7 separate regions of the Homo sapiens genome follow, and regions 1, 2, 3, 4, 5 and 6 are each linked to region 7. Evidence: promoter capture Hi-C in 16 types of primary human blood cells and fetal thymus (Javierre and others, 2016). All regions are on one chromosome and are shown on one strand. Each heading gives the region's core, a stretch centred on a gene start or on the middle of the fragment in contact. The rest is flanking DNA. Distances are from core to core; before and after follow the strand shown.

Evidence for each region. The method cuts DNA at HindIII sites, captures the fragments that hold promoters and counts their contacts. A CHiCAGO score of 5 or more calls a contact.
Region 1: a contact is called between a fragment that was not itself captured here and the fragment with the promoter of MED7 in region 7, in 2 of 17 cell types (total B cells and naive B cells). The highest score is 7.2, in total B cells.
Region 2: a contact is called between a fragment that was not itself captured here and the fragment with the promoter of MED7 in region 7, in 1 of 17 cell types (endothelial precursors). The highest score is 5.4, in endothelial precursors.
Region 3: a fragment that was not itself captured here is called in contact with the fragment with the promoter of MED7 in region 7 in 2 of 17 cell types (naive CD8 T cells and naive B cells); the score reaches 5.4 in naive CD8 T cells.
Region 4: a contact is called between a fragment that was not itself captured here and the fragment with the promoter of MED7 in region 7, in 1 of 17 cell types (neutrophils). The highest score is 9.4, in neutrophils.
Region 5: a contact is called between a fragment that was not itself captured here and the fragment with the promoter of MED7 in region 7, in 1 of 17 cell types (neutrophils). The highest score is 5.2, in neutrophils.
Region 6: a contact is called between a fragment that was not itself captured here and the fragment with the promoter of MED7 in region 7, in 1 of 17 cell types (neutrophils). The highest score is 7.1, in neutrophils.

The regions. Positions count from the first base shown.
Region 1 is chr5:154,959,711-154,963,219 of GRCh38, forward strand. MRPL22 (mitochondrial ribosomal protein L22) reads left to right here. Exons shown (of 7, transcript NM_014180.4): 6 at 270-339. Among named protein-coding and RNA genes, the nearest start is that of MRPL22, 20 kb to the left of the region's middle. The HindIII fragment of the contact is 7,858 bases long and covers 1-3,509 here.
Region 2 is chr5:154,980,984-154,984,463 of GRCh38, forward strand. No RefSeq gene overlaps it. Among named protein-coding and RNA genes, the nearest start is that of KIF4B, 31 kb to the right of the region's middle. The HindIII fragment of the contact is 4,811 bases long and covers 1-3,480 here.
Region 3 is chr5:154,915,714-154,919,247 of GRCh38, forward strand. GEMIN5 (gem nuclear organelle associated protein 5) reads right to left here. Exons shown (of 28, transcript NM_015465.5): 12 at 2,218-2,291; 13 at 1,285-1,466. Among named protein-coding and RNA genes, the nearest start is that of GEMIN5, 21 kb to the right of the region's middle. The HindIII fragment of the contact is 1,257 bases long and covers 1,401-2,657 here.
Region 4 is chr5:154,438,763-154,441,856 of GRCh38, forward strand. The region is part of intron 2 of SAP30L-AS1 (SAP30L and GALNT10 antisense RNA 1); the gene reads right to left. Among named protein-coding and RNA genes, the nearest start is that of SAP30L-AS1, 5.5 kb to the right of the region's middle. The HindIII fragment of the contact is 1,866 bases long and covers 391-2,256 here.
Region 5 is chr5:159,277,411-159,280,981 of GRCh38, forward strand. UBLCP1 (ubiquitin like domain containing CTD phosphatase 1) reads left to right here. Exons shown (of 11, transcript NM_145049.5): 9 at 828-944. Among named protein-coding and RNA genes, the nearest start is that of UBLCP1, 16 kb to the left of the region's middle. The HindIII fragment of the contact is 3,109 bases long and covers 234-3,342 here.
Region 6 is chr5:159,251,717-159,255,211 of GRCh38, forward strand. No RefSeq gene overlaps it. Among named protein-coding and RNA genes, the nearest start is that of UBLCP1, 9.8 kb to the right of the region's middle. The HindIII fragment of the contact is 1,037 bases long and covers 1,573-2,609 here.
Region 7 is chr5:157,141,184-157,144,462 of GRCh38, forward strand. MED7 (mediator complex subunit 7) reads right to left here and starts at 1,682. Exons shown (of 2, transcript NM_004270.5): 1 at 1,637-1,682. RefSeq lists enhancers at 1,350-1,399, 2,210-2,309. The HindIII fragment of the contact is 9,177 bases long and covers 1-3,279 here.

The sequences.
Region 1 (3,509 bases), core at 253-2,752, 2.2 Mb before region 7:
CTTACAAGCACCGCTATCTCCTTTATAGCTTACACATGTCATTTAAAACTTAGTAGGATGGGCTGTGTTCTATGCATTTACACTTCTTGGTCTAAGGCAGGAAAGCTCCCTTCTCCTTTGTACTCTTATCATTTGATATTGTCTTTTTAAAATTGACTATGGAAGCATGTGATTAGCAGTCATAGTACAGAGATAATGAGAGATGAGAAACTTAATTCCATTTTACTTCAGGTTTAGCCGTATAAATGCTTTTCTTTTTCTTATTTAAGGTTCTCTTAGAAGCACAAGATATGGCAGTGAGAGACCATAACGTGGAATTCAGGTCCAATTTATATATAGGTAAGATTTTTAATATTCTTAGCATTAGAAAATGTCTTCAGTAGTAATGCCATGTTTTTTATCTAACAACAGTCTTTAATATCTAACTCCTCAGGACTTGGTTTGTCAGTGAAAATTGCTAGTAATGGCTTATTCTTCAGCTGTATGCATGCCAATTTTAATTTAGTGTAAATGACAATAACTGTACTGTTTTACCTGTTCTGTAGTGAGACTGAGATCATAAAGCCAATTGCTAATAATTATTAAATAATAGATACCAAGACTGGGGTACATAGAGTGGTACTTTAATTGTAATATTATAACAAATAGTATTAACACATTTTTAAAGTTGTTTGTCAACCAGAAGGAGGTAAATAATCACAGGTGCATTTAAAAAATTTTTATTTATAATGTGCCAAGCCAGATGCCTAATCCATAAAGGTGTCCTGTAATTTAACCTTACAGTTATCAAAATGGAAGGTCTGTTGAATTGTAAAAGCCAAGGGGCCTTGGAAGGCTCAGATGACCCAGATGTGTTTGTTCCACTTTGTTACTACATCCTGAAGCATTAGCTCTGCTTTTACATGCTTGTTCCACATCAAATTAAATTAATATAAGTTAAAATGCTTTGGGAAGCATGATGTGCTGTACAAATGTAAGGAATCTTTTTGCTGCAGACCGTCACACAGTTATTTTCTGAGAAGGAGATTAATGTTTATTACAAAGCTCTCTTGCCTCCTCCCAACACCATGGGAAAGTGGAGCAGTGGTTGGAGTTATTATTTTTTTCTCACTACAGCAATTACTCCTAACCTCAGCAGTTTTATATTCAAACAAAGATGTTGATGTTGAAGCAAAGTTTTCTCAATCTGCCATACCAACATATAAAGATTATTTTACTTAAAGCTATTTTAAATTCAAGATATGGGGAACATCTACTCTCCAGATGGAGGAGAAAGGGCTGAATCAATACAGGGGGAATTAGTTGTATTTTATAATTTTTCAACAATTAGAGTAAAAAAAAAATTATCTAAATTCTACTTTTTCACATAGCCTCTGTGCTGATTAGGTTAAAATCTCAGTTCAACTCACCTGGCATTGATGTTGGCCACCACACCTCCTGAAATTCAAATTAGTTGATTTTCAGTTGAAATGCTTTATTTTAAAGCTGAATCTTGTATAATTTTATTTTGATACATGCAAAGATGCAAAGGGAAATCAAAATGGCAACCCAAGATGCAGGGCCATGGTAGTTAATCATAAGCATTTTCTTCTGGGAGCATTATGAATAAATAATGTTGGAGAGGTCTTGGAACCATTGGAAGGGATGAGGAGCAAGACCATTTGCTTAAAACCTCTTGGTGATTCTTCCTGCTCTGTGACTCTGAATATCAAATCAAATTTAATTAATTTTATGCAGTTTCACAGGGATGTGAGATTCGTAGCTGATAGACTTTCTAATGGACTTCAGATACAAATGAAATATGATTTGTCTTTAAGCCTTTTTCAATAACTGTCTTTAAATCCTTTTCAATAATTATAGTAAAGAGAGATAGGATAAAGAGCTTAATCCTGTTGCTCCAAATGAAGGAGCAGGGTCCACTGTTGCCATTAAGCAAAAACATGCTTAACCAATCCTACATAAATGACCCTTTATTTTATCTTTTTTTATTTTTGGAGATGAGGACTTGCTCTGTCACTCAGGCTGGAGTGCAGTGGTGTGATCACAGCTCACTGCAGCTTTGAACTCCTGGTCTCAAGTCATCTTCCTGCCCCAGCCTCCTGAGTAGCTGGGACTAGAGGCACGTACGAGCACACTTAGCTAATTTTAAAATTTTTTGTAGAGACAGAGGTCTCGCTTAGATGCCTATGCTGGTCTTGAACTCCTGGCTTCAAGCAGTCCTACTGCCTCAGCCTCCCAAAGTGTTAGGATTACGGGCATAAGCCACATTGTCTGACCCTTTAATCCAGAGTTCTTTTGCACATTTCTGCTGAAAAATCTCTGCCTTACCTGTACTGTCTTTTCATCTACTTCTGTGTTGATGACTTAAGTAAGGCTAATAAATTTGGATTTACATTATGATTTTTAAAATTTTTCATTCACTAAGTATTTTGATGCCTAATTCCATAATCAAAAGAGATGAGTTCCCTCAGGAAGAGTATGATGTGTCAGACATTTTATCCCTGTATTTGCCAAGCTGCTTCTTAAGAATCATCTTGAGGTTGTTATTTAAAATATAGATTCCCAGGCCTCGGCACAGACCCACTGGACTTGAAACCCCAGTGGAGAGGCCTAGGAAGCTGTTTATTTAATAAACAAGTTAATAATAATCAGTTGTTTAATAAACTATTGATTCTTAACCATAAAATATGGGAAACTGATTTATCTTACTGTGTTCTTGGAAAAGGCCTAGACATTTCATTCCATAGACTTCTGTTAGAGTTTTGAAAAACTAGTTACTTATTGGCTACTATTTTGGTTCAGCAATGGTTCTTTCAGTACCCTGAAATAAGTATAGGCATTTTAAAGGAAGTGCTTTTTTGATAGCATATGTTCTCATTATATGGTAACTCTTTCAAATGCCTGTCATTGGTGTAAAGCTAATACCTGGTGTTGCATGACCACAGATTTAGAAAGTTCACTTCCCTTTCAAACTTATAGTGATGACTAATGATACTGTGAATAGGCCTTAACAAGTGGACAGGGACTAATAAAATGTCTCTGCTTAGTGATTCATGGCATCTAAAGTGAATCACTTTAGGGAAAGTGATCAACTGACCTTGTACATCAATCTTATTGGCTGAGAGTGATGAAGGTGGGAGCGGAGGGCTTCTAATGTTACAATTTCAAGATTTGTATTTACCTAAATACTACTAATAGGAAATATTTGCTGTGTGTATATATATTTACTTACTTATTTATTTATTTTGAGACGGAGTCTCACTCTGCACCCAGGCTAGAGTGTAGTGGTGCGATCTCAGCTCACTGCAACCTCTGCCTCCAGGGTTGAAGCAATTCTTGTGCCTCAGCCTCCCGAGTAGCTGGGACTACAGGCATGCATCACCACACCCAGCTAATTTTTGTATTTTTAGTAGAGATGAGGTTTCACTATGTTGGCCAGGCTGGTCTCGAACTCCTGACCTCAGGTGATCCACCTGCCTCGGCCTCCCAAGATTTTGGGATTACAGGCG
Region 2 (3,480 bases), core at 44-2,543, 2.2 Mb before region 7:
ACAGGAACAGCTGTGTGGCACTCGCCAACAGATTTATATCATTGCAGGAAACAACCCAAGCAATTACCTTGTCTTTGACAAGCATCACTCTTATCCCCATCTCAGGAAAATTGAGGCCCTTTTGCAAGAGGGCCTTTGAGTGTATATGACCAACATTAAGTGGTTATGACAGGACATATGGAATACTGTACATGGAGCCAGTTTCAGATAACTGTCCAGAGGCCTGTCTGTGTATCTAAGAAAGTAAAAGGTGGAGGCTACCTGGTTAAAGGAGGAAGACTTTCAGTTTTTATTGTTTGGGTGACCTAAAATAACATGCATTTCTTTACATGTTCATTCACCCAACAAATGTTTGAGTGCTACTATGCACCAGATATTGTTCTAGGTGCTGGGAATATTAACATAGACATGGTTGCCGACCTCAGGAATCTGACAGTCCACTGGCTAGGGAGGAATATACAAATATAGACATGTAAAAAGTACCATGGAGGAAAAGAAGAGAGTGCTTGGGGGATAGCAGGGGGACCTTTTCAGCAATGTGGCATCTGTGATGGGCTCTTTGAGGAAGTGCCATTTTTGCTGAGGCCTGAAGTCCAAGGAGAGATTAGCCAGGAAATCGAGTAGGGGAGAATGTTCAGGCAAAGGCAGTGCCATGGGCAAAGGCCCCAAATGAAGATGAACCTAGTTCACTGGAGAAACTAAAGCAGAGTGTATGGAGAAGCACAGAAACACAGAGTGGGGGAGGATGCGGCACAAGGTACGAATAGGTCAACCGACTTCCGGGACAGGTGGTCTTGGAGAGGAGTCCAGATTTCACTGTAAGTATAAAGGGAATCTTTGAAGCTGGGGAGTGGCAGTGCCTGGTTGATGTCTGTAAAAGCTCAGTCTGGTCTCTGGTAGACAATGGCCTTGGGTAGTGGGGCCTGAGCTGATGCCAGAAACCAGGTAGGAGGTCATTTAAGAATTCAGGTTGGCCGGGCACGGTGGCTCATGCCTGTAATCCCAGCACTTTGGGAGGCCAAGGCGGGTGGATGCGGGTGGATCACGAGGTCAGGCGTTGGAGACCAGCACAGCCTGGTCAGCGTAGCGAAACCCCGTCTCTACTAAAAATACAAAAAATTAGCTGGGTGTGGTGGCGGGCGCCTGTAATCCCAGCTACTCGGGAGGCTAGGCAGGAGAATCACTTGAACCTGGGAGGCAGAGATTGCGGTGAGCCGAGATCGCACCATTGCACTCCAGCCTGGGCAACAAGAGCGAAACTCCGTCTCAAAAAAAACAAAAAAAAAAGAATTCAGGTAAGAAACGACTGTCCCTTGGACCAGGGAGATGGTAGGGAATGACAGGAAGTAGACTGACTGGAAATTCATTTAGGCAGCAGCACTGACTGGGGGTGGTCAGGAGTGTGGCGGTTCCAGGGCAGGTTCCCAGGTCTCTGGCTTGAGCACAGGGTGAATGGATGTGCAGTATGCTGAGGTGGGAAGCATCAGAGGATGACTAGATCTGGATATTAAAATACCCAGATTCATTTACTGTGGTAAAATGAACATAACACAAAATTTACCATTTTAGGCCAGATGCAGTGGCTTACATCTGTAATCCCAGCACTTTGGGAGGCTGAGGCAGGAGGATCACTTAAGCCAGGAGTTCAAGACCAGCCTGAGTAACATAGTGAGACCCCCTTATCTACCAAAAAAAAAAAAAAAAAAAAGGAAAGGAAAAAAAGAGCCTTGCCATTTTAACCATCTCTAAATGTACAGTTCTACTGCATTTGTTGTGCATCCATCATTAACTGTCCATCTCCAGAACTTTACCATCTTTCCCAACTGAAACTCTGTACCCATTAAATAACTCCTTATTCCTCTTCTCTCCCTATCCCCTGGCAACCACATTCTACTTCCTGTTTCTATGAACTTGGATGCTTTAGATGCTCCCTATAAGTGGAATCATACATTATTTGTCATTTTATGACTGGCTTATTTCACTTAGCATAATGTTCTCAAGGTTATTCCTGGTTGTAGTATATTACAGGATTTCCTTCCTTTTAAAGGCTGTGTAATGTTTCATTGCATGTACATATCACAGTTTTCTTATTTATTCATCCATAAATGGACTTTCGATTGCTGCCACCACTTGGCTATTGTGAATAATGCTGCTATGAATACGGGTGTGCGAACATCTGTTCCATCCCCTGCTTCCACTTCTTTTGGGTATTTACCCAGAAGTAGGATTGCTGAATTATATGTAATTCTATGCTTAATTTTAAAATTTAATTAAAAAAATTGACAAATAGGCTGGGCATGGTGGCTCACGCCTGTAATCCCAGCACTTTGGGAGGCCACGGTGGGCAGATCACAAGGTCAAGAGATCCAGGCCATCCTGGCCAACATGGTGAAACCTCGTCTGTACTAAAAATACAAAAGTTAGCTGGGCGTGGTGGTGCACGCCTGTAGTCCCAGCTACTCGGGAGGCTGAGGCATAAGAATCGCTTGAACCTCAGAGGCGGAGGTTGCAGTGAGTCGAGATCGTGCCACTGCACTCCAGCCTGGTGACAGAGCAAGACTGCGTCTCAGAAAAAAAAATTGACAGATAATAATTGTATATACTTATGCAGCACAACGTGATGTTTTCTTATATGTGTACCTTATGGGATGATTAAATCAAGCTAATTTACACATCCATCATCTCACATACTTATTTTTGTGTGTATGTGTGGTATAAACATTTAAAACCCACTCACTTAGCAATTAAAAAATATGCATTGCATTATTATTAACTATAGTCACCATGGTGTGCAATAGATCTCAAAAACTTATTCTTCCTGTCAAGCTGAAACTTTGTACCCTTTGACCATCTATGCCTCTACATTTACTTTTTTGAGGAATCACCACACCATTTTCCACAGTGTTGTACCATTTTATATTCCCACTAGCAGTGCACAAGTGTTCTATTTTCTCCACCTTCTTGCCAACACTTAGAATTTTGTTTTTCTTTAATCATCATCCTAACGCATGTAAAGTGGTACCTCATTGTGATAAAACATTAACATTTTTAGATATTAAATTTGAGATGCCTGATAGTCACAGTTGGATATTTCAGCCAGGATTTCAGAAGAAAAGTCTTCTAGTCAGTTTGAATTCCATCAATGAAGGTGTGCAGAGAACTCTTATGAATAACTCATCATGGCCAGCTCATGCCTGTAATCCCAACACTTTGGGAGGCTAAGGCTGACAGATCACTTGAGCCCAGGAGTTTGAGGATAGCCTGGGCAGCATGGCAAATCATCATCTCTACAAAAAATATAGAAATTAGCCAGGCATGGTGGCATATGCCTGTAGTCCTAGCTACTCAAGAGGCTGAGGTGGGAGGATTGCTTGAGTCCAGGAGGTTGAGGCTACAGTGAGCTGAGATGGCACCACTGCAGTCCAGCCTGGGTGACAGAGTGAGACCCTGTCTCTAAAATAAAATAAAAATAAATACCTA
Region 3 (3,534 bases), core at 779-3,278, 2.2 Mb before region 7:
AGAATCAGATGCAATCAAACACGGGAATGAGGTATGTGTCCTCTGTTTGTGTGTAACACTCAAAAACTGCTGGCGGAAGTATTAAATGGCATAATGTTTTTGGAGAGCCGCTTAGCAGTAAGTATAAAAAACTACATCTTTTTACCTAGCAATTCCACTTCTAGAATTTTCTATACAAAAATTATTCATTCATGTTCACGAAGATCTATGTATAAGGCAGTTTATTGTAATACTACTTAAATTGTAAAAAAAAATAAATAATTTGAATGTCATTTAATTGTGGAATGGATACATTATGGTAAGCCCATATAATGGAATGAACAGGTAACTGTTTTTTTTTTAATTTTTATTTTTTGTATAGGTGGGGTCTCCCTACATTGCCCAGGCTGGTTTCAAACTCCTGGTCTCAAGCTATCCTTCCACTATGGCCTCCCAAAGTGCTAGGATTACAGGTATGAGCCACTGCGCCTGGCTGACAGATATTTGTTAATAACAGCAAGATAGATCCTTGTGTACTGACATAAAAAGATGTCCATGATAAATATTGTAAATTTAGAGAAAAAAACTGCAAGCACTATATATTATATATAGCAATTTATTTTTAGCTAGGAACAGAAGATTATTCTTTCACACAAGTACACAGAAGTGCAAACCTATTAATATATACTAACATGTATACATATGTAGGCTATGACTTTATAAAATCTAGAGAAAATATATAGCAAGCCAATAACACTGGTTATTGAATGATGAAATTTTAGGGGAAAACTTCATTTTTTTTTCTTTCTTTTTTGAGATAGGGTGTGCTCTGTAACCCAGGCTAGGGTGCAGTGGTGCAAATATAGCTCACTGCAGCCTCAAACTCCTAGAATCAGATGATCCTCTCAGCTCAGCCTCCCAAGTAGCTGGGACTAAAGGCATGCACCTCTAACCCGGCAAATTTGTTTTTTATTTTCAATTTTTTGTAGAGACGGAGCCTCACTATTTAACAGGCTGGTCTCAAAATCCTGGCCACAAATAATCTTCTCGTTGTGGCCTCCTAAAGTGCCAGGATTACAGGTGTGAGCAACTGTGCCTGGCCAACTTCATTTTCTGTTACCATTTTTGTCATGTTTGAAAGAATTTTAAAATAAGATGAATCTATCACTTTTGAAACAGAAAAAGTAGTAAGAATAATACTTATTTTATTATAATGTCAAAAATAAAGTAAAAAGTAACAAAGATTAGAATGGAAAGTAGCTGAACAAACGATATCATCCCCAGTATGAAAGAAACCAAAGTTACCTATGACAGTCTTCAGGTTGTGCACGTAAATGACTGCATTGTTGGAGCCAGAGGCCATCAGATAGCTCAATTCTGGCTGGCTGCCATGCTCATGATGCCAGCTAATGGTATTCACAAGCTTGTGATGCTGTTGGATAGTACAGATCAGTTTCAGGTTGGGAATCTGAAATATTTCTATTGATCTGGAATAAGAAACACATCAAAACAAGAAAGATGGATGATCAAATTACAAGTTACAATGCAAATAGTAGCTCCCTCATTCCGTCAGTCAAGGAAAGATGAGGTGGAAAAGGATAACCCTTTCTATCACTGCAAAGGTCATTCTCTCATAAAAAATCAAGTATAAAAAGTTATTCTCCAAAAAGTATATTTAGCTTTTAAAAATTCTAGCAATATCCTAACAATTCTTTTCTTAAAAAAATTAATTTTTAGAAATTTTAACTTTCCACACTACCTCAGTGTAACAATCTCCTAGCATTCTAACAATGCTTGATAAAATTGTGTTCATCAGGCATTAATGACAAATGATGATAGGGAGAAGCTAAAATAATTAACAGATCAATGGCTGAATTATGACTGTGTTACTATGATTAACACTGGTCAGGATACAGACCTAAAAAGCATTTCTGACTAGGCTTACTTTAAAAAAATGGAGATTTATGCAGTTCAACATAGGAGGTGACCATTTTGTGAGGGACAAGACAGCCAAAATACAGTGTAGCCAAATACTCTCAATGGGCTGAAAATATCTAAATAATTCTGTAGTTCTCAAAGACACAAGGCACTACTGGATCAGCGGAGGATATCAAGAATAAATCAAAATACCAAATACAACTGGGCCGCCCCAGCTAACATTACAGATGGCATTAGTCAGCTTGTGATCAAATATATGTGCGATTGCAAATTTTTTATCTTAAAGAAGCAAATACATACCCATCTTCATTGCCAAGAGCCATGATTTTGCCATCTGCTTTCCAACTTATCTCTGTGTGTACAGGCAATTTGTACTAGAAAGCAAAACAAACCAATCTTGACTATATACATATCTCACAAATCAGCAATGACAGCATGAGAAAAAAAAATCCCTAGAGTTTAAAAACGTTTTAATTATACAACAGCTATTCTTGTAAATAATCTACATAATTAGTAAAAGGATTACTAAGAACATGCATTCTAATTCTCATTTCCTAACTGGGCCAAAAAAACAAAACAAAAAAACCCCCAAGGCCAATAAGTACTAAATGTTTACAGTGCTTAACCTTGTGAAATATATACTTAATTAAACTGATCTGTGCCCATCAGCTTGGACAATGTGGGGACCATGAGGCCTTAAAGAAAACTATATACACTCTCCTTGTTTTCTATCCCTTCAAAGCTTCTTTCCCTGAATCATTTCCCTCCCATATCTATATGCTGGTATTCCCCAAGGCTGCCTGGGCCCTCTTCTCTTGTTAATTGTCTCTTTAACCCACCTCATACATGTCCACAGCTTCTTCAACTATCTTTATTGTGAAGGGATTCAAAATTTCTATATCCAGCTCAGACTCCTAGCATGAACCTCTGATCCACACATTCAAGTGCCAATAAATTAGAAGAGACTTAGGAACACGAATTTTGTCTCTTATTCATTGCTGAATGTTAATGTTTAGATAAAATTAAAGACAATGAGGGAATATAATCAACAATATAACCCAATTTATAACTAAATGTTACTTTTATACTAGCCATAAAAGTAATGAGCAATAATATAAAAATGCTCATTTGGGCTGGGCATGGTGGCTCATGCCTATAATCAGTACTTTGGGAGGCCAAGTGGGGTGGATCACTTGAGGCCAGGAGTCCGAGATCACAGCCTGGCCAACATGGTGAAACCCTGTCTCTACTAAAGACACAAAAATTAGCCAGTCTTGGCACGTGCCTGTAATCCCAGCTACTCAGGTGGCTGAGACATGAGAATCACTTGATTCCAGGAGGTGGAGGCTGCAGTGAGCTGAGATCGCACCACCGCACTCCAGCCTGGGCGACAGAACAAGGCTCTGTCTCAAAAAATAAATAAGTAAATAAATAAAAATACTCATTTGAAAGGGTAAGGAGGCCAAAGCAGGTGGATCACTTGAGCTCAGAAGTTCAAAACCAGCCTGGCCAACATGGTGAAACCCCATCTCTACTTAAAAAATACAAAAATTAGCTGGGCATGGTGGCCCATGCCTGCAGTCCCAGATACTTGGGAGGCTGAGGCAGGAGAATCTC
Region 4 (3,094 bases), core at 74-2,573, 2.7 Mb before region 7:
TTGTATAAAGATAAGAACAAAATCTTGTTATTCCATTTTAAATCTAGCAATTTCTTGTGTAAAGATAAGAACAATCACTTTCACTTGTTCTTTGATTACTGTTAATTCTTAAGTTTAGTATATTCAATCCTCCTTAATATTTAATAAGACTTACCTCCTTAATCAAATTTCCTTAGACACTTAAAACTACAATTATCAATTTAATATGCCTGATTTTCTCACTTTAAATGCCCAATAGGGCAGACTTACAAATCTAAAAAGCAAAACCTTTCTAAGCATTTAAGCAACTGTTGTAAATTAATTACCTAAATGTATAAATGTAGCAAATCAGATTCACTTGGCTATTTCAAGAACCTTAAATCCTACACAAAGCAGAACAAGGATCATAGAAGCTTCTGTTCTGTATTCATTTCTTCACTACAGAATATTTATTCCCATTTCCTTTCTGGAGTTACAGATTTACTCCCCCAATAAAGAGACCAGAATTTTTCCCAAATATTGCTAATGGCAACCAATCTATTTCACTTTCAAATCTGTCGTTTTGCACACAAGTCTTCAGATATTTATTGACGGGAGACATTAGCATATGGTGGTTGTAAGGAAACCTAGTATCAGCTAGGGAAAGGATATGGAGAGAATGCAAGTGTACCCAGCCCTGAAGGCCAATACCTAGACATGGGGTGGAGCATGTAGAGGCTATAGAGGGAACTGCCCTAACTTGGCAAAATAAATTGTGTATAACCCCTTATTGTGTATAACCTCTTAATTTGGGGGGAAGGAGATTTTAAAGATAATCCCAGCAAATGCTGTCACCATATACCTTCTCAATCCTAATAGCCACTAATCACTGTGTGTGCTTGGACTTGTTGCTCAACCTTGCTGAACTCAAATCCGATAGGCTTAAATAAAGGATTGGCTTCCTAAGACCCTTTCTAAGTCTCACAGCCAGTGAGTCTAAGTCAGGGATCACTGTAAGCAAAAGAGTAGATATAAGAAAATACATATGTTTGAAAGAAAGTGAGTAGGCTAGACTAGAAGAGGTAATTGCCTCCAATGAAGATTTATTACATACTTTAACCTTTAAAGCAGGGTGTCTTAAACTTTAAGGTGCATTAAGAATCATCCATAGATTAAATTAATGTGTATTAAAATGTAGATTTCAGAGCCTCATACTCTTTCCACCAAGATTTTATTTAGGAGGTCTGAGATGAGGCCTGAGATTTTTGTAATTTTTTTTACAGTTCCCTATGTGATTGTGATGTAGAGCTAGGTTTGAAACCTGTAAATCTTTCCTTTAAAGACTGGGTGATACTCTGTTGGAGTCAGTACCAGTTCTTGCAATGCAAGCTGCAGAGAACATTGTTAAGATTCAGAAACAGCCAGTGCGGTGGCTCACACCTGTAATCCCAGCACTTTGGGAGGCCAAGGTGAGTGGATCACTTAAGGCCAGGAGTTCGAGACCAGCCTGGACAACATGGTGAAACCCATCTCTACTAAAAATACAAAAATTAGCCAGGCGTGGTGGCGGGTGCCTGTAATCCCAGCTACTCAGAAGGCTGTGGCAGGAGAATCGTTTGAACCCAGGAAATGGAGGTTGCAGTGAGCCAAGACTGCGCCACCCCATTCCAGCCTTGGCAACGGAGTGAGACTCCGTCTCAAAAAAAAAAAAAAAAATTCAGAAACTTGAGAAATGGCAAAATGCTGAGGCTGCAGTGGTCCCTGGATCAAAAAACTACAGGTCTTTGCAGCCCAGATTAGTCAGTGTTCTCCAGAGAAACAGAACCAAAATTAACCAAGACACACTCCCAGAATTTAAGAGATGGGGAAATTCTAAAAAGAGGTATAGCAGAGCAGCTGGTTGGGCTCCATATACATTCCACCCATCTCCACGTGTAGCAGAGCCCTCTGTTTTCACCTGAGCATACAGCCACCAGGAATAAGGGCTACATTTCCCAATGTTCCCCTCCCCCGTTAGGTATGGCGAAATTCTGGCCAAAGAGGTACAAGTGGGAGGCTCACCTACAACTTCTGGGAACTATCCTTAAAGAGCAAGGGTGAGCCCTTCCTCTGCCTTTCCCCCTTCCTCCTGGCTAGAATGCCTCAGTAGATGGGAGTCCCAGCAGCCACCTTGCTTAGTGACGCGACCTTGGGAATGGAAGCCAAACATGGCAAAGCAACAAGAGAAGCCTCGGTCTCTGATGCTGAGGAAAACAATCTGATCACCTCTAGGATTCCTGAAGGTGAGAGAAAAATGTAAGCTTATTTTTGGGTTTTCTGTTACTTGCTAAACCTAATTATGACTAATTAAGCCAATAATAGTATCTAATATTTATTGAGTACCTAATATGTGCAAGGCACTTTTATATCTAATAGTTGGTTTATATCTAATAACTCAGACAGTCTTCACAACAATCCCGAGAGGTTACTATCATCCCCATTTTACAGATGAGGAAACCATGGCAGACTAAGGCCATGTAATTTTCCCAAGGTTCCCAGGCTAGTCAGTGGCAGAGCCAGGATTCCAGCATAAGCTGACTACATCTAGATTTATACCAACCATTATGCTGTACTGCCTCTTGATTCCAGAGGCCAAGTCATCCATCATCCATCTATCCATCCATTCAACAAATATTAATCAAGTGCCTGGGCACTGGAAACTATGATGAGCCATAGAGACAGTTCCCTGTCCTTGCAGAACTTCCAGTCTCAGAACAATGTGAAAGGAAAATGAATCTCGGGACACCAAAATCACTAAGGCAAAGGGAAGAGTCAAGCTGGAAACTGCATCAGGCAAACCTACCTCTTATTTTATTCCTAAGTTAGATAGCTACAAAGATAAAAAAGCTACAGACCTCCCTCACAATTTGCCCACAAGGAAATTCCTTGTGGGCATCAAGATCTTTACCCTAAAACAGTTCTGTTGAATTTCACCCTGGCAATGTAAATGGATAGCTTATCTTCATAGGTGTGGGACAAAGGACAGAACTCAAAGTCATCCCTCTGCTCACCTGAGACAAATGAATATCTGATTGCTTCTTCTGCCCTGTTGTTTATGTAAAAATGCAGATCCACTGAGACAAAGGCATAAATGACT
Region 5 (3,571 bases), core at 538-3,037, 2.1 Mb after region 7:
TGTTCTCATAATACCGTAAGACTTCTGTCTTCAGCAAAAGTAATTTTCTAGAAATTTAAAAAATTTTCTGAATGTGTAATACATTTGCATGACTAAAAAAATAGTAAAGTACATAATGAAAAGTCATCTTTCACCTGGTACCTAGCCACAATCAGTGTTATTTCCTGTGTGGTCTTACAGAGACTTTACACAAATACCAACAGGTAAGACTATATAAGAAATTATTTATTTGAAGCTTCAGTTTAAGAATTCAGAAATAAGAGTAAGAATTTGTAAAATATGGTGCTTCCGAAGTTAAGCAATCAAATTCCCTAGAAATTATGCACCTGTGCCACTGAGTTAAAGACAAAACGAGTTTTTCCTCTATAAAATATTCAAATTATTAATTGAAAAAGCCAAATACAGTTTTTTTTTGACTAGGGTGTTCTAGTTTTGAAAGCAGACTCCATGTGACTCCCAAGCTCTGAGAAGGAATGTGTTAACCAAGGAAGTCATGTGACTGCATAGCAGACATCTAAACAATTACTTTGGATTTTTAAAAAATTAAATAATTTATTTATTTTACCCAAAATCTTCACGTTAAAATTATGGAAAGTTTTATAATGGGTTTAGTTCAGTTGGACATGAACAAACCTTTCAGAAGTTTTAATATTGCAAAATGCATTGTGCTTTAAAGTGGGTTGCATTTAATGATTAGCTCACACCTGTCTTACAGGGGGAAAGGAACACTTTGGCATTGTTCTGCAGGGCAGTTTGCAGTATTCCTGCTTTTAAGACAGGATGAAATATTGATAAAATTTGAGTTAAATGTAAACTTTTATTCTAAGGTAAAGCCTCTTGGTGTTATATGGGGAAAGTTTTCGGAGTTTTACAGCAAGAAAAACACCATTATGTTTGATGACATAGGGAGAAATTTTCTAATGAACCCACAGAATGGACTAAAGGTAAGACATACTTTTACTTGTTATGTGCTCATGTAATCTGGGCTGTGTGGTAGAACTTTTGTAGTAAGCACTGTTGAATTTCATATATTTTTGGAAGTACTGTATTCTTATGTCATAGGCGAGAAAAGTTTAAGAATAATTCATATAGAAATTGAACTTTGTCTTTTTTGCATTGATGTCTCCATAGTTAGCTAGTTCATCCAAGTATTTGTTTGTTTATTTATTTATTTATTTTTGAGACGGGATCTCACTCTGTCGCCCAGGCTAGAGTGTGGTGGTGCGATCTCGGCTCGCTGCAATCTCCACCTCCTGGGTTCAAGTGATTCTCCTGCCTCAGCCTCCTGAGTAGCTAGGATTACAGGCACGCACCACCACACCCAGCTAATTTTTGTATTTTTAGTAGAGACAGGGTTTCACCATGTTGACCAGGCTGATCTCAGGCTCCTGTCCTCGTGATCTGCCCACCTCGACCTCCCACAAGTGCTGGGATTACAGGCATGAGCCACTGCGCCCGGCCCAAGTGTTTTATTTTTAATTAGCTCTGTGGGAGCAACATGGGCTTCCCAACATTGACTTTTAGCATCCAAAGTGAAATCATTAGTTATTTTTTTAGGTATACAAATCTTGGCATTTTAAACATTCTGGTTAGCTTGAGAAATGGCAGTAAGGGTACTTTGTTTTTTCTTTTTAAACTGAAACTAAAGACGTTTTTGAAAATTCCTAGACGGCAAGTACAGATCTTAGAATTAGACATTGCCAGAGCTAGAAGGAACCACAGTCATCTCTTGCCTACCTTCTTAACTTTGGAAACAGTCTGAGGTTGAAGAAGTTCCTGACTTGCCCAAGATTGTATATGTAACTGGCTAATGACAGAATTTGGGTTAGACTCTAGTGACTTGGTTCCTAGGTCAGTGACAATCTTAGCATGCAACTGCATGCAGTCTTATGTGACATTTCATCCTGGTAACAGTATAAAATTGGTAAGAGTGAAATTTGAAATTTAAAAGTTTCTGGTACCCATAGTTGATTACATGTTGGCGCAATATGAAAATGGAAAAGATAGCTCTATACTATGGCACTATTGCACATGGAGTCTCCATTCGAAGTGGCAGTCCTGACACTGAGATGTTTTCATTCTCAGTCCTAAACTTTTCTACTAGCTGGGTCCTTGGTAGTTTTAAAAGACAAGAGAGAAAAACTTAAAAGTACATTTTTTAAACCTTTCTTACAGACTGTTGATTTGAGTTTTTGTTTACAATGAGGATATTTTAGGGAAAGAATACTAATCTAGGTAGTGAATTGCCATAAGTATAAAAACTGTTGACTTGGAAGAAAAGTGGTTATGTTGTCCTTAATGGTTTCTGTTTAAGGCTTGGAGAGAAGTGCTTTTCTTAATATGTACTGCACCAGGTAAAGGTACAAAAATGTATTCTTGAGTCTTGAGAAGAAATGTGGTTGATGTAAACCTAATTGTTTGTGAAACGAATGGTTATTACCTGTTCTTGCAAGGAGGTGATCCCATGATGGTCAAGGAATAATTTTGGAGGAGACGTTTAACTTTAAAAAAAAAAATACAATCATTAGTTTCATGTTTGTTTAAAAGAAACTTTGTTTTCCTAACCAACATTTGAGCTCCATTCATCTCTTGATGCAGGGAGAGATGTTATTGTAAATGTCTAGTTCTTTATGTTACTTTACAGTAGGGTTTTTAAAAGACTGTACTCAGTAGACCCACTGAAGGAATTCCTAAAAATACGTATGTCCCCATCCCCTAAATTCTAATTCCAGAGGTAGATTTAGACACTCCACAGGCTGTCCTTGTGTGTCTTTTATTGAAAACCTCTTTTTTATAAAATTAATCTACCCAAGATAACACTTCATGAAAACCTCTTTTAAGGTTAAAGATTAAAGGTTAAGATTAAGATTAAAGATCTGCCCACGTCGGCATAGAAACAGGTGGGGTTTTCTGACAGGGTCTTGCTCTGTCACCCAGGCTGGAGTGCAGTGGCATGATCAGAGCTCATTGCAGCCTCGACTTCCCTTGCTCCAGTGATCCTCACATGTCAGCCTCCCAAGTAACTGGGACTACAGGCGCACGTTACCACACCTGGCTAATTTTTGTATTTTTGGTAGAGACAAGGTTTCGCCATGTTGCCTAGGCTGGTCTCGAGGTCCTGCACTCAAGCGATCCACCTATCTCGGCCTCTCAAAGTGCAGGATTACAGGCATGAGCCACTGCGCCCAGCCCAGAAAGAGTTCTAAAATGGAGAAATATCCTCAAATGCTGTGTTTTGTTATCATGCTTTCATAATGCACTTGGTAGAAATCTCAAAGATTTCATGTAGATCTTAAAAATAAGACTGCTCATTTTTAAAATAGTTAACTTCTATTAAACATAAGCTTGTCAGTCATAAGGTTTGAAGTACATGGAAGGTACTGTGAATATGAATTTAGAATTACACTAAAAGAATGTGAATCTTGGTCATGGATAAAGCAGTTTATCGGCTGAAAACTCCATTTTTATTGTCTGTACAAGGAAATTATGATATAGGAGAATTCAGCTTATCTAGACAGTCTTAAGTTTCTAAAAATGCTTCCTTGACCTGAGACAAGATGATGGTTTCCTG
Region 6 (3,495 bases), core at 841-3,340, 2.1 Mb after region 7:
ATCTCAGTCTCCTGAGTAGCTGGGACTACAGGCATGTGCCATCACTCCTGACTAAGTTTTTCTATTTTTAGTAGAGACAGGGTCTCACTTTGTTGGCCAGGCTGGTCTCAAACTCCTGGCCTGAAGTGATCCTTCTGTCTTAGCCTCCCAAAGTGCTGGGATTCCAGGAGTAAGCCACCACACCCAACCTCAGAAAGAGTAATTTTAAGAAAAAAATTAATGTAGAAATCACTGTTGATTTAAAATATGGAGCATTTCAAGATTGGAGAGTCATAAACTAATTTGGAACTATTTAATACTTTTTACATTTGCTAGTAGCAGTGACAGCAGAAAATACATTTCCAAGTGGTAGAATTTAAAATTAATGTAAATCCAAAGAGCTAAGATATGAATGGAGAGGAAGAAAATGAGTGATTTTCTTATGGATAAAATGTGACTATCATTAAAAAATAGAGTGGGTGAATGAATAATAAATTAACTAGAATATTGAGATAAGGAAAAGTAATATTGAGACTTCTTAGGAAAGTAATTAACACTGTTAACTGTCAGTGTAGAATAACTTCAGGAGTGGCTAATAGGCCTACAGAGAGGGTCTCATCCCTGAGAACCCTCCCCAGTACACAGGGACAAGCTCAGGCAGAACCTGATCCCTTAGGCAGAACTGATTGGTTCAGAGAAGGACATGTGGCCTAAGTGAGGCCAATAAGATTCTATCTCAGGATTTTGGAATTTGGAGCTGAGCAATACAGAAACTAGGAGTCAGAGTCATATGAATGGCAGTGTTCTTGAGAGAAGGTCTATGGATCTAGAATTTATTGTTGAGGATCTTGGACTCACCTTGACTCCTGGTTCAACGACAGGCATAACTGTGTCTGGTACTGTGCTCTTTCTAATACTGCTCTCCTGCTTCCTCTCCTCAACTCCCTTTAGGCTCAAGCTAGCATGTTTAAGTTTCTGTTATTTAAAACCATAAATAATATTTCAAAACAAGTCACTTGAGGTAATATTTATACAGTAGCAAGAAAAAAATTACTACTTTGATGTTTTCAATAAAATTCTACATACTAAATGTAAATTTTCTATAAAATTTATTTAAGTATGAATGATGAAGCTCTGAAAATTCCAGGAGAGATATATGCAGATATCAGGGAAGTAATAATAGCTGTCAATAAAGAGGAAGAACATGAATTTTCCATTTGGTTTTACGGATTACGTGATGCTTATGTTTCTCATTTTGCAAACGGAAGATTGATGGAAACTGTCAAAATCTAGCCCAGGCCCATAGGCTGTTGTCTGAGAACTATTAAACCATAGAGGCTCTGAAACACAGAACGTATTTATCTTTTTGTCTTTTGGCTATTCAATAAACTCATTTTTACAAATGGAATTGAGGTCAGGGGAAATTGATTGCCTCAAGGTCAGGAGGGCAATTTTAGGCAAGGCTGCTTCTAGAACCCTGTCTAATGCTCTTTGGAAATAAACACATTGTTAAAGAAATGTCTCCTGAAGATTGGAAGCATAATGAATAAAACAAGGTAGCCTAGTCATTACAGATAGCTTATTGGTAATCAAAGCTTGCCTTGTTGTGTTGTAAATGTTTAGATTGTAACTGTCTAAACATTTCATTGATATTTTTTGAAGCATGGGAGATATTAATTTATTCACTTATGAGTCACTGTGGATGTAAAAAAACAAATAAATGAAATTACTTCATAATGTTAAATACTACAACATAACAATTTGATGTTCTTTTTTAAGATTTCATAGTGAATGTGATTAGGCAGCAATATATTATGCTAAAATTTTCATCTCAGAAATAGTTTCATTAGCCTAGAATTTGTGGGTTGGGACATTGTAATTATTATTCCATAAGTAAGAAGATACTATCTCTAATGCACAAGACTTTGGATATAAAAGAGAAGCACACATTTTATTGTTCCTATTAAAACTGTGCATGGGACATCTATGGAAGGTCTGTTCCACCCTTTGACTGTGGGAAAATTTCTACTCTATATTCTTCTCTATAAATGATAATGAAATTAAATGAATGTAGATATTCTGCCACCCTGCAATCTTTACTAACTTTGAAGTTTTCATTTTGTTTACTAAATAAAGAAAACTAATATATTAACCACCTGTGTCAAAGAAAAGTAGAATCAGTTTTTTATAATGAGTACATATTATTATTATTATTATTTTGTATTTTTGAGACGGAGTTTCGCTCTTGTTGCCCAGGCTGTAGTGCAATGGCACAATCTTGGCTCACTGCAACCTCTCCCTCCTGGGTTCAAGCTATTCTCCTGCCTCAGCCTCCTGAGTAGCTGGGATTACAGGTGCCTGCCACCACGCCCAGCTAATTTTTTGTATTTTTTGTAGAGATGGGGTTCACCATGTTGGCCAGGCTGGTTTCAAATTCCTGACCTCAGGTGATCCACCCAACTCAGACTCCCAAACTGCTGGGATTACAGGCGTCAGCCACAGCGCCCAGCCGAGTACATGTTATTTTTATAAATGAGAGAAAATGCATTTTACTGTTAGAATAAGTGGAATCAAGTCATGATAATGTTTTTCACTCCTGTTGGTAACTTTTCAGCCCTATATTTAGGTTAAGCTTGCTATATCATATTTATTCATTTATTTTGTTTTGTTTTGTTTGCTGTGTCATATATAGATATGTTTTGTTTTCAAAACGAAAACAAAAAAATGCCTTTTTTTCTCATTGTAAAAGTAATACAGAGATTTCCAGTTCCAAGACAGTTCCAGTTGCACGTCTCCCTATTCTTCTGCTAAGTATAGCTAAAAATCCTGGACAGTATATGTAAAATAAATATAAGGGGACTCTGGAAGGTAGAAATAAGGCAGATTGGCTATTTACCTTAAAAAACATGCTAGCAAATTCCTTGGGATTTCTTTTTGTTTCATATATCCCAGACTACGTACTGGCAATACAGGCAACCTAGAAATGCCAGGGGGTTCATGTAACACTCCCCCATCCCTACCCCAAGCCTGCTGTCTCTAGACAAAGGACCAGGAAAGGAACAGCCTGGTAAGGCAGAAAACATTTAGTTAATAACCACATATGCAGAAAAGTTACCATGGGAGGCCTAAGCCTGCCATCCTTAGAAATTCTTGCTTGCAAGATTGGTCTTTGGCTGGCATCTGGGAACATCCTACAGTTCCTATACAGATATGAAACTTTCCCCAAATGATAAGAATGGCTCACTGAGACTAGACTGTTGGCAAACAATGTAGCTTCTGCTGCACAGCTGCTTTCCTTCTGAGAGTCTGCAGTTTTGATAGGTGCAAGACAGTGGGTATCTACATGATGACATAGTTTGTCTGTGTCCCCATCCAAATCTTATCTTGAATTGTAATTCCCATAATTCCCACATGTCAAGGGAGGGTCCTGGTAGGAGGTGATTGGATCATCGGAGTGGTTTCCCCCATGCTGCTCTCATGATTGTGAGTGAGTTCTCATGAGATCTGATGATTTTC
Region 7 (3,279 bases), core at 432-2,931:
CATTCTCCTGCCTCAGCCGCCTGAGTAGCTAGGACTACAGGCGCCCGCCACGACGCCCGGCTAATGTTTTCTATTTTCAGTAGAGACGAGATTTCATCGTGTTAGCCAGGATGGTCTCGATCTCCTGACCTCGTGTTCCACCTGCCTCGACCTCCCAAAGTTCTGGGATTACAGGCGTGAGCCACCGTGCCCGGCAGAAAATACAATTTTTGACAGCTCACGTTTCATCCCACTCAAACCTTTTTAGGTGAGGAGTGCTGCTCTGTACTTTCCTACACGATGTGCATTCCTGTATTGCGGCTGCCATTTTCCTAAGGCCAACTACATGACAGGTACCATTTTTTATGGCCTCTGTAACATAATCTTCATTAACAATTCTATGAATTAAGGTTTTTGGGGTTTTTGTTGTTAGTTTTGTTTTTTGAGACAAGGGCTCAATCTGTCTCCCAGGCTGGAGTGCAGTGGTACCATCAGGGCTCACTGCAACCTCTGCCTCCCGGGTTCAAGGGATTCTCCTGCCTGAGCCTCCTGAGTAGCTGGGGACTACAGGTGCGCACCACCACGCCCAGCTAATTTTTGTATTTCTCGGTAAAGACAGGTTTTCACCATGTTGGCCAGGCTGGTCTGGAACTCCTGACCTCAAGTGATCCGCCCACCTCGGCCTCCCAAAGTGCTGGGATTACAGGCGTGAGCCACCACACGGTCCCACGAATTAAGTTCTATTATCAATTTCATTTTAGAAGTGAGGATCCGAAGTCTCAATGAGGGGAAGTGTTGCCCCAGATCAAAAGGTTAATAAATGGCACAACAGGAATTCTTATCCCAGGTCCCTTTAGCTCCAAAGGGCAAGCTCTCTTATATCCCTAAGCCGAGAAGCATCTAACTGTACAATAAGGACTGGCATATCACAAAAATTATATTTCTTTCTCTACTGTCTCTCTAGATGGAACTTTTCAAAGGTGATGGAGGTCTTATTTTTAATAAAAGCAGAGCCAAGCATCAGAGCTGGTTCTTAACTCAAGATCCAACATCTAGTGTTTGTTCTACTGGGGGAGAAGGAGCTTCACCAGAAGACGACAGACATTCCAGGGTCCCAGCCCCAGAGATTTGATTCATTCTGTCTACTGTGAATGGGCCCTAGAATGTCGCTTTTAAAACCTCTCCAGATGGACCTGACGATTAGGCTTGGGATCTACCGCCCTCGCCTGCCCCCATACCTCAGCTGTTTCATAACTGCTCCCAGAAGAAGGAAGGGCAGGGAGGGCTACTCTCATGTTACAAAGAGCCGGAGAGGGCAAATGACTCGCCCAAGGCCACACAGCTTAGAAAAACAGCGGCGCGGGGACTAGACGCCAGGTCTCCCAACCTCCACTCCGGCTCGGCGTCCCAACACGGAGGAAGCCCCGAGACTGCCACGCTTAGAGCCCCCTCCTCCAGGCTGTCCACCCCGAGGCCTCCGCGCTCTCGGAGAGACCGCACTCTCGGAGAGACTCGGGAGAGAAAGACGAAAGACCGCCTTTGGAGGCCGAACTCAGCCATGCCTCCCCAGTTCCCAGCCCAGCACAGAGGAAGCTGCGGGGTCCGGAAGAAAAAAACGCACACAGGCGGCGGCCCCAAACCGTTGCCGCCCACTTACCTCAGCTCTGGCTTTACACTGGTAGCCGCCTTCCCCTCTGCAGCCGAAACCAACTTCCGGTCTCCTCCGGGAAGAAGCCACCGACTCTGTCCTTGATTGGCTGTAAGAGCTGTCCTTTAACGAAATTCTAGCTCCGCCTCAGACCGATCCCTCGCTGTTGCGCCTACGTATGTTTGACTCCTCCCATCCACCCGTTACTGACTTTTAAAAGTCGTAGCTGAGGGTTCCGTTTCTTCGTTTCTTTTTGAATTAAGGCATAAAATTGAACAAGACACCTTATTGCTTTATTTTTTATAGACCCCTTATTGACCAGAAACAATCTTATGTTTTAATGTTTAACATGCTCTTGTAAGACTTAACGTGAATTTAGAAATTTATGACACGAAAATAACCTCCAAAAGAAACGCTTGCTATTGCGCCTGCGTATATTCCACCCCCTTCCCCATTACCACTCTTTTACTGACTTAGTCGCTGCTGGTAGTTCCATTCCTTTTGTCCTTTTTTAATTTAACGCATACAATTAAGACGTCTTACATACAAATTCGAAAATATAGACATGCAGGGTTTTTTTGTTGTTTTTTTCTTTGAGACGGAGTCTTTCTCTTTCGCCCAGGCTGGACTGCAGTGGCGCGATTTCGGCTCGCTGCAACTTCAGTCTCCGGGATTCAAGCGATTCTCGTGCCTCAGCCTCCCGAATAGTTGGGGTTTCACCTATTTTTTTTTCTTTTTTTTGTATTTTTGGTAGAGACAGGGTTTCACCGTGTTGGCGAGGCTCATCTCGAGCTCTTGATATGAAGTGATCCGCCCGCCTCGGCCACCCAAAGTGCTGGGATTGTAGGCGTGAACCACCACTTCCGGACTCCCCCATTTTAAATCCCTCGCACGTATCAATTTATTTCCTGAAGAAATCCATCTACGTTGAGCATAACCCAATCCAGCTTTTCTCCTCACCGCTGACCCCAATGTATCCTGCACCAGTGACTTCCAATGGTCGTTCCCAGTCCTCATTTTACTCCATCTGTCAGCAGCATTTGGCACATTTGATTAATGGATTGCCCCAGGACTCAGTTCTCCAACCACTTCTCAGTCAGATATCAGCTGGATGATTACATGCAGGCCCTGGAACACCGTTTCCTCTGCACTTCAGACCCTCATATCCAGTGGTGACAGACATCTTTCCCCAGTTGCACTTTACTCAATTGCAAATGTTCAATCGAAGGAATCACCTTTTTCTCCTTTCTCACATACCCCACCGAAACTACCATACCAGCCTTTTGCATTAGATCTATTTAAAAATAAGTAAATAAAGTTCCAAATATGACTGACCACCGTTCCCACTGCTATGGTCCTATGCCATGCCACCATTATCTCTCACCTGGACTTCTTTGATTTTTTGTCCTCCCTTAGTCTATTTACCACACCTTCTTAAAATATAAGACCGGTCTTATCACTCCTCTATTCAAAATCCTCCAAGGCTTTCTATGACTTTTAGAATAAAATCTGACATCCTTCCCCTGGCCTATATCACAGGCCCTACAAAATTGCCAAGTACATCCCGGCCTTGGGGCCAATGCATTTGCCTGGAACTCTTTGCACAGATATTGACACGTCTCATTTCCTTCTTTCCTTTTTTTTTTTTTTTT